Linked DNA regions of Homo sapiens: all the other regions are linked to region 2. The links are contacts of gene promoters, found by promoter capture Hi-C in blood cells and fetal thymus (Javierre and others, 2016). All regions are on one chromosome and are shown on one strand. Each heading gives the region's core, a stretch centred on a gene start or on the middle of the fragment in contact. The rest is flanking DNA. Distances are from core to core; before and after follow the strand shown. Region 1 overlaps SUDS3 (SIN3A corepressor complex component SDS3). Region 2 holds the start of HSPB8 (heat shock protein family B (small) member 8). Region 3 has its middle 46 kb from the start of SUDS3.

What was found. The method cuts DNA at HindIII sites, captures the fragments that hold promoters and counts their contacts. A CHiCAGO score of 5 or more calls a contact.
Region 1: a fragment that was not itself captured here is called in contact with the fragment with the promoter of HSPB8 in region 2 in 1 of 17 cell types (endothelial precursors); the score reaches 6.2 in endothelial precursors.
Region 3: a fragment that was not itself captured here is called in contact with the fragment with the promoter of HSPB8 in region 2 in 1 of 17 cell types (endothelial precursors); the score reaches 5.8 in endothelial precursors.

The regions. Positions count from the first base shown.
Region 1 is chr12:118,404,677-118,407,865 of GRCh38, reverse strand. All of the region lies in intron 10 of SUDS3 (SIN3A corepressor complex component SDS3), which reads right to left. Among named protein-coding and RNA genes, the nearest start is that of SUDS3, 30 kb to the right of the region's middle. RefSeq lists an enhancer at 2,819-2,868. The HindIII fragment of the contact is 1,213 bases long and covers 1,316-2,528 here.
Region 2 is chr12:119,177,638-119,180,596 of GRCh38, reverse strand. HSPB8 (heat shock protein family B (small) member 8) reads right to left here and starts at 1,666. Exons shown (of 3, transcript NM_014365.3): 1 at 918-1,666. The coding sequence starts at 1,284. RefSeq lists an enhancer at 1,314-2,063. The HindIII fragment of the contact is 5,655 bases long and covers 1-2,959 here.
Region 3 is chr12:118,421,347-118,424,684 of GRCh38, reverse strand. No RefSeq gene overlaps it. Among named protein-coding and RNA genes, the nearest start is that of SUDS3, 46 kb to the right of the region's middle. The HindIII fragment of the contact is 916 bases long and covers 1,378-2,293 here.

The DNA of each region.
Region 1 (3,189 bases), core at 673-3,172, 770 kb after region 2:
GTGCCTGTAGTCCCAGCTACTCAGGAGGCTGAGGTAGGAGAATCGCTTGAACCTGGGAGGCGGAGTCTGCAGTGAGCCAAGATTGCGCCACTGCACTCCAGCCTGGGCGACAGAGCGAGACTCTGTCTCAAAAAAAAAAAAAAAACCAAAAATAACACATATACATGTTACATGTGTATCCATGTATCATATCCTCACAAAGGTCTTTTAAAGAAAACAGCTGACTCTGGAAGGCTATTCCAACAATTCTCATGAGATGCATTGTATTTTCCTTCAGTGGTACTTAGAACCCAAACCCAAGAAATTCAACTGACTTAAAAGCGAACACCCAGAGTAAACAATGCAAGCTGGTCTATTACCTCTGGGAAGTGGTCTGGAACTTGGGAATGTGGCCACCTCCCAGATCCGCCTCCTTTGGAATCACTGAATGGTGGTGGCCTGAATGTCCACCATTGGTCCCTATTTGCTCCAAAGTAGAGGTGGCCAACATGCTTCCCAAAGCAGCCAACTTCCAAACCAACTGATCACCAGGTCCCTCCTGAACCGCAGTCTCTGAGACCTTCAAGGGATCCTCATGCACTACACGATGTCTTGGGGGAACCATTATCCCTAGATACCAAATCTATTAAATTATTTGAATTCTCTGAAAAGATAAGTCCTTAGATATTAAAGTGTTCAGGGCTCATACCTGTAATCCCAGCACTTTGGGAGGCTGAGGCAGGAGGATCACTTCAGCTCAGGAGTTTGAGGACAGCCTGGGCAACATAGCAAGACCTCATCTCTACTAAAAATCAAAAAAACATTAGCCAGGCATGGTAATGGAGGACTGTAGTCCCAGCTACTCGGGAGGCCAAAGTGGGAAGATCGCTTGAGCCAGGGGGATCAAGGCTCCAGTGAGCTATGATCACACCACTGCATGCCAGCCTGGGGGACAGTGAGACCCTGTCTCAAAAAAATAAAAAATGAAGTGTTCATATGGGGGGGCGGGGGCGGTTAAAGATGAAACCAAGAAGTATGTGACAACCTTAACATAAGAATTTACTTTTTAATTTCTAAAGAAAAATCAAAGGGGGGGGAAGAAATTTAAAAATATGTTTAGATATAAAATGTGCTACGAAGCAACATCAACAGGGTAGTAAAAATGTGCGTTTTTTTTTTAGGCCAATTAACCTGTTTTACAAGCTGCAACTCAGCTGCTGAAAAAAGATATTTAAATAGCCTCAAAGACTAAGCCCCAAATGTCAAACTGACTCTATTACTTTGTAACTAATGGAAATTCTGACCTGGGAATCTCTACAATTAAGTTCTTAAAGCTTTGAACCTCTACTATTAAACCGAACAAAACTAGAAATTACCACTACTGTACTATTTTCGAAAAGCAATTTCTTAAGAAGGTGGACACAAAAGTGGGGCGAGGAGGTAGGAAAATTAATTTAATTTTGTATCCTACTGAGAATCCTGGTATTAACACTTTATTTCCCCAATAAGTGAGTCCACGTTATAGCTACAGAACCTCAAGGAGTCCCAATTCTACTGGTAAATATTCACTGTTTTAAGTCTTTTGTGTCGACCGAAGGCTGAAGGGGAAAATGCTCTTGAGCAAGTGGGTGGCTTCGTTTCTGACTCACAGGCAGCCCCAGATTTAAAACAAGGAGAGAAAAACAGAAGTCCACCCGTACCATCAATTAGTTATTTTCAAATATCAGCTACTTTTTCACAGTATTTTTTGAGAGATCATTAGTCCAAATCAAAATGTGAGGCAAATTTACATAGCATGATATAGAATGCCTTAAAAGCAGTATAAGACCAAGGCAAAGGGAAGATCCTTATCTTTCAAAATGAAAGGGAGCTTGGCAAGTATTCACACCAAGATGCGATGCCTGAATCCCATTTGTTTTGCTGAAGTCATTTAAAACTCAGGAAGACATCTTCTGCCAAAAATACGGCTGCACCAAAATACTCCATACCCTCTGGAAAGAGCATAAAGCAATGTAGCTGACCTCTCAGCCACAGGCCACGTCTGCCAAAGAAAGAAAAACAAAACCTCCAAACTGATACAAAAGCCAAACATGAGCCTGGTGAGATGGGAGAGGCTGGCACTGCACCAGTGAACACCTCAGCCAGTATTCCCAGGAACACTTTTCAATTGTCATTGGGGAAGAGGGAGACCCACCTTCAACAACTGCATTATGATCTCTGACTGCCAAGGCCAAAAATGAAAAGTATACAGAATAGAGAAAAAAAACAACATTCTCAAAGTATATTTAACAAGAGAATAAGCAATTTCAATTTCACTGAAAAAGTAAAATGCATCCAGTGACATTATTTTCTAAATTTCTGCTGTTAATGTAAGAAAGATGGTGAAAATTCCTTCAAAATGCTTAGGAGTTCTAACACATCAAATCTGATCATTTTGTTTACATTAGGAAACACCAGACATTGTGGATCTCTTCTTTAAAAAAACAAGAATTTTATTTTACTGCATTTTCACCCTCAAGACATGTCTCGTAAAGTCTGAGGATTAAGCTTAGAAAGAGGAAGATTCAAAGCAACACAATTACAAAATGAACATCACTGGAAATATCACATGGCTTTAAGACTCATAGATTTGTAAAAATGTTAGTGATAAATCTCATCATTTTCAAAGATGGTTCTTATGTGTGGGCTTGATCTTTAAAGGTTATTTGGTTTTCATTATTAGAAACATTTTTCATCTCATTTTGCCCTTCTCAGTGTTAAGCTGTTAGAGCCTGCCACCTAGTGGCGATGTGTTCTGAGACATAATGTTAAGATATAACACAAACCGACCTTTCTGAAGAATGCCAAAGAACACCAACTCAGAGGGGAAGAAGTCATCAAGATCAGCCTTAGAGATAAAGCCAGCCTCCAGCATCTACTGGGCAATTAACTCACTGCAACTTAATAGGTGGAAATGATTTACTTCGGCCATGACTAGAACCCTAAGCATTTTTGACAAGTACAATGTTATCGGGTAACCAACCTAACACAATGCTGGGTTTTTTTAAGAATTCAAAATAAATAATCATTACCCCAATTTTGGAACTTTTGGTTAGATACTGAAACTCAAAGGGTCATTATATAGCCATTATAAATGATAATGAGACACCTTACAGTAACCCAGAAAAACATTCTCAATATAACCAAACAGAAAGGCAAAGCAAACCGTAT
Region 2 (2,959 bases), core at 417-2,916:
AGCTGTGCATAGGCCCAGTCCCTACTCCACTCCTATTGCTGACTCATGGCATGACTGTGAACGAGTCCCACCTAGGCCTCAGCCTCCTCAGCTGCAAGATGGGCCTACCCTGCTACCCTGGAGTGGACTGAGGATGATTTTGGAGAAGTATAAGAATGTCAGCCCACCCTTGGCACCTAGTAGGTGCTCAGTAAATCATCACTTCTTCTTTCTGGCCTCCTAATTCCCAGACAACCTGGGTCTGACTCCTTGGTGGCCTTGAACAAGTTACTTTAATCTCTCCGTGCCTCAGTTTCCTCATCTGAAAAAAGAAGATAAACAGTACCCACCTCCTCTGGTTGTGGTATTAGCTGAGATATTATAGGCAACAGCAGTTAGCAAAGTGCTGAGCGAATAGTTAGCACTCAGAGTTACCAGTTAGTGTTACTACAATTACTGGTAAGCCTCAGTTTCCCTGTCTGGGACAAGGAGAGGTGTTTCACCGGAAACCAGTTGCGGTTATTAACACTATCATTGTTCAGCCTTAACGTGCACTTCTAGACTCTGTTATGATGCTGGAGTGCACAAAATCCCGTTTCTTCTTTGTTTTTTAATTCTTTGATATCTGCTTAACCTATTCTTTATATTAAATGCCCTCTGTCAAAATATCCAACATGGTTTCTATTTTCCTGTCTGTACCATGATTGATGAGCACCCAGAGGCCCCAATAGCTGAGTCAGGCAGGTTAAGATCTCTGCTGGGAGCCGGGAGAGAAGTTTTCCGTAAAGATAACTTTGCAGGCTGCATTCCTGAGCCCTGAGGTCACCTGTGTCACACTGTCCCAACGTCAGCTCCCAGGAAACTTTCTCTGGCTATTCCCAGGGCTGAGGGCTACATCCCGGCCTCCCCATTCTCTCTCCCTCCTGCCCCTGACTTACCAGACACCTCCACGTATCCATCTTTGGTCTTCACCATCAACTCCTCTGGCTTGAAGCTGTGCACATTCACACACACTTTCCAGGGCTCCCCAGGGAAGGGTGGGGGGGTCCTGCCCTCGGCAGGCACCCCAAACCTGGCGGTGGCAGTGGGGCCCCGGGGCACCATGCCCGACCTTAGGGTGCCTGGCCAGGCGGAGGAGAGACGAGGCAGAGCCCAGTCGGGCCAAGAGGCTGTCAAGTCGTCTGGGAAGGGGTCCATGCCAAAGCCATCATCCAGCAGGCGAGAGGAGAGGGGAGAGTCCCGGAAGGGGTCTCGGCGCAGGCGGCTTGGGTAGTGGCAGGAGAAGGGCATCTGACCGTCAGCCATGGTGGCTGCTCAGCTCAGAGAGAAACAGAGGCTCAGAGAGACAGAACCACCTGCCCAAGGTCACACAACAAGGTGGTGTGGCTGGGCTAGCTTATTCTTCAGCTTCCGAAAATGCTGCTTTTCTGCAGGGAGAAGCAGAACCAACCACTGCCAGGGACGGTTGTGTCCCCTCGACTGGGGTCCCAGCCCCCAAAGGTAACCCCCGGGGCAGATCCAGCAGAATCCCAGAGGGTCCCCGTCCGCACTGCCTCACGACAGACCGGCAAGCCACCGTCCTCCCAGGCTTCCCAGGCTGCCCAGGCTGGCAGCCAGAACCGCTGAGGTCTAGAGCGGAGCCAGGAGCTTAATAAACCCAGGGCACGCGCGCCTAGAAACTTCTTCTGGCTCCTTCTGGGCTGCAAGCCTTCTATTTATTTGCTGCTGGAGGCTGGAGGCGGGTTTTGCAAGCGTCTCCTGTCACAGGAATATTCGGAGGTGATGAACCAGCCCCGGAGAATCCGCGGAGGGAACAGCTGGGCTGTGGGGGGAGCTGGGAGGGGCCGCGTCCAAGTTCAGCCGGCCTCTCCGGACACTCTCTCCTCCCCTGGCCACTCCGCTCAGCTCCGCCCTCCTCTTGCTCCAGGAGCTGGAGCCGCCCTCCCCGAGCGGGGCACTAAGGCCTGGCTATTAATAACCCCGAGCCTGGCTGAGGGCTCAGGTCACCCTCTGGAAATACCTTCCCTAGAGCGTGTCGTATCCTGCCTTTCCCCTGGGGACCTGCAGAAAGGGAAGAGAGAGACAGGAGCCCAGTGGATTTGAAGGATGGCCCTGGGTTGCAATCCCCACTTACAAGATGGCCAAGCTCCTAGAGCCTCAATGCCCTCTGGGGAGATTGGTAAAGGAAAAAAAAAATTTTTTTAATGTGTATATATATATTCATATGACGCTTGTTAAAGTATGACAAGCAAGACTTTACTGGGCAGGGAAACTTTCTCCATAGATGTAGGGACCCCTGCAATGGGATTTTGCAGTGAGGGAGAAAGATTAGACTTGATTCCCAGTAGGTCATGGGTAAGTGTGAATTTGTAGCCAAGAAGCAGGTGGGGGGTCAGCGAATGGAAATTTACTAGGAGGGAAGTCCAGGAGTCAGAGGGATTCGGGCTCAGCTAACCTAAGAGGATTCTTGCTGAAGACAGGCCAGGGTGCTCAGACATCACCTGGGGGACCGCGGAGGATGAGGAAACTAATCAGATATCGAGGGTGATCAGAAATCGAAGATGGGTGGTTGCTACTAAACAGACTTAGCAGAGTTCATGCCAAAACTGAATTTTTCTTTCTTTCTTTTCTTTTTTTTTTTTGAGACAGAGTCTCACTCTGTCCCCCAGGCTAGAGCGCAGTTGCGCCATCTCCGCTCACTGCAACCTCCGCCTTCCAGGTTCAAGCGATTCTTCTGCCTCAGACTCCCGAGTAGCTGGGATTATAGGCACCCGCCATCGTGCCCGGCTAATTTTTGTATTTTTTAGTAGAGTTGGATTTCACCATCTTGGCCAGGCTGGTCTTGAACTCCTGACCTCATGATCCACCTGCCTCCACCTCCCAAAGTGCTGGGATTACAGACGTGAGCCACCTCGCCTGGCCCAAAACTGAATTTTTATAAGGAACCTCACTGATGGGCTTAGGAGAAGATTCAGAAATC
Region 3 (3,338 bases), core at 586-3,085, 760 kb after region 2:
TCCTGCAACGAGAAGTAGGAGGCAGTAGCTAACCATTCCTCCATTCAGCAAGCACTCAATGGGCACCTACAATGTACTCGTGTTGGGAGATTTGGAGGAAAAACAAAAAGCCCCAGTCCCTGTCCTCTCTGGCTCACAATCCAGTGGCTATCTCCACACACCCAGAGAGGCAGCAATTCAAACTCTTCTCTAGTGAGAAGGTTAACAAGATGAAAACAGATGCCTGGAGATCTGCTTGTCTTGAACTAGTCAAGCCACTTGACTAGTGGCTTCTGTTGGCCTTCCCTGGATGGCGTACCCTTGGAAGTTCACCATGGGCTTATCCTTGAGGCACAATGGGACCTGCCTGAGCAGGTGGGGCAGGAGTTGGGGTAGGCAATCCCTGTGATAACCATGCCCACCCGGCACGGGCATGGTGTGGGCTACATTTTCTGTTTGTTTGGTTTTTGGGATGGGGTCTGTGTCTCCCAAGCTGGAGTGCAGTGGTGCGATCATGGCTCACTGCAGCCTCAACCTCCCGGGCTCAAGCAATCCTCCCACCCCAGGCCCTGAGTGGCTAGGACTACAGGCACACACCACCACGCCTGGATAATTTTCGTAGATACAGCATTTCATCATGTTGCCCAGCCTAGTCTCAAACTGCTGGGCTCAAGTGATCCTCCCACCTCAGCCTCTCAAAGTGCTGGGGTTACAGGTGTGAGCCACCACACCTGGCCAGGTTATATTTTCTAAAGCACTCAAGTGACCTACAGAGTTTGTTTGAAGCACAATAGTTATTATATTGTTTTGCTTGCATGACTTCATTTAATCTTGACAATAAACCTTGCTATTATTAGTCCCACTTTCTAGATGAGGAAACTGGAGCCCCGAGAGGTTATGTGATTTGCCTAAGTTCACACAGCTTGTAAGCAGCAGAGTTCAATCCAGATTCAAACCTGTCTCAAGCCCCTGCCTCTGAGTCTCACAACTGGATTTCTTTTCTCCATTTAGATTGTTGAATTGAGAGTTACAAGAACTGAGTTCTAGCTTGGCGTCTGTTTCCAGAAGCGAAAAATGGAAGGGGTTGGCTAAGATGACAACTAAGGGTCCTTTATGCTTTGGCCATCTACATTAGGAAGACAGAAGCCAAAGGGGAAAGGAAATGTGTGAACGTGGTGCAGAGGTGAACACTTCCCCTCCTCAAGCCTCATTTTCATCATCTGTAAAATGGAAATCACGAAGACACACATCACAGGGCAGTTTAGTATATTAAATACAATAATGTATAAAAAGTACTTAGCCCTCACCCAAACACATCATAAGTGCTCAATAAATTTGAGCCCTTATTCCTTCCTAATATGCCCGCAGGGCTCCACCAAGCTTGAATTCCCATAAGCTTTCACTTCTGGGAAGGTCAAAGAACCATGTTTGAGAGAAGAGGACTGATCAAAGTAGGAGAAAGGGAATCAGGTAAAATTACTGTCTAACAGGAATGTGTGCTGTTGCCCTTTATTGGTTTTACATATGAGTTAGCTTATTAATACTTTCAGGAGCATGTTAGTGTGAAATTGGAAAGCATCACTGCAGGTCAGCCATGAGCCACTGCACTGGTGACAGAAAGGGGAAGAAGAGCAAGCAGGGCAGGCACAGTGGGGAGAAGAAAGGAGAGAGGCAGAAAGGAAAGGAAGGCGAGTCCTCGATGGGAAAGGGCAAAAAGATAACCAAACAGGGAGCAAACTGGTTTTAAAGTTCAAGGCTTGTGGCCAGGCGTGGCGGCTCACGCCTGTAATCCGAGCACTTTGGGAGACTGAGGTGGGTGGATCATGAGGTCAGGAATTCAAGACCAGCCTGTCCAACATGGTGAAACCCCGTCTCTACTAAAAATACAAAAATTAGCCGGGCATGGTGGCAGGCACCTGTAATCCCAGCTACTCAGGAGGCTGAGGCAGGAGAATCGCTTGAACCTGTGAGACGCGGCGGTTGCAGTGAGCCAAGATTGTGCCACTGCACTCCAGCCTGGGCGACAGAGCAAGACTCTGTCTAAAAAAAAAGAAAAAAGAAAAAAAGTTCAAGGCTTGTGATGTATGTTAAACACACGCTACTATTTGACTTTAAACATGACTCATATCCACTTGTCTTTTTGCTCAAGCCATTTCCTCTGTATGGAATTCCCATTCTTGGTCATAGACACTGCTCAAGGCCTGCCTAGCTTTCTCTGAATCCCCCAAAAGAGCCTAGAACACTACCTAACATGCAGTAAAATTCAATAAATGGTTTTTGAATTGAATGCAATGACAAATGTGTTCCTCAAGCTTATGATTATTTACTATTTCAAGTAGATGAAGAAACACTCCAAACAACTGGCTGCAGGTGACCAAAAGATTATCATAGCAAAGTTCCCTGTCTTGTTTGGGATAAGAGTGAAGGTCTCCAGGGACCCGTTCTGTGGTGGAAACACTTTCTTCCAATAATAATGAAAACAAGAATAACAAGGAAAAATAAATATGTATTGCCTTTAGTCCCGGCTACTTGGGAGGCTGAGGCAGGAGGATCGCCTGAGGCCAGGAGTTTGAGGCTACAGTGAGCCATGATGGTGCCTGTGAATAGCCACTGCACTCCAGCCTGGGCAACACAGTGAGACCTCATCTCTAACAATGTGTGTATGTATATGTGTGTGTATATATACATGTGCATATGTGTTATATTACACACACACATATGTACGTGTGTGTGTGTATATCTATATACACAGAAAGGGAGAGAGAAAAGACTATGTCCCAAACACTATTTCTAAGTACTTTATCAATAATAAATTACTTAACCCTCAAATCAAATCTGTGAAAAAACAGCAGTTGTCACCCCCATTTTACAGTGGAAACTGGGTAGGGTGACCAACCATCCCAGCTTGCCCCAGTCTGACAGGGCTCCTGGGATACAAGACTTTCAGTACTAAAACCAGAAAGTCCCAGGCACACTGGGATGGGAATACCCTAACACTGAGGCACACAGAGACTAAGAAAATGTCCCAAGGTTAATGAGTGGCTAGGCCAGGATTATGAACTCAGGGCCTTCATCACCTCCACTGGGCAGGTACAGACAGAGGCAAAAATGAACCCATAGAACGATGGCAGTGTTAGGGTATTTCCATCCCAGTGTGCCTGGGACTTTCTGGTTTTAGTCCTGAAAGTCTCATATCCCAGGAGCTGTCCACTATGCTTTCCAGCACCCAGCCCGGCATAAAGAGGTCCTCAAATGATTGTCCTAACCATATTCCAGCTGTAGTACTGACTATAGCCCAGCTGTGGTACTGACTATAGCTCTAAGACCACAGGAAAGTCATTTAACATCTCTGGGCTGCA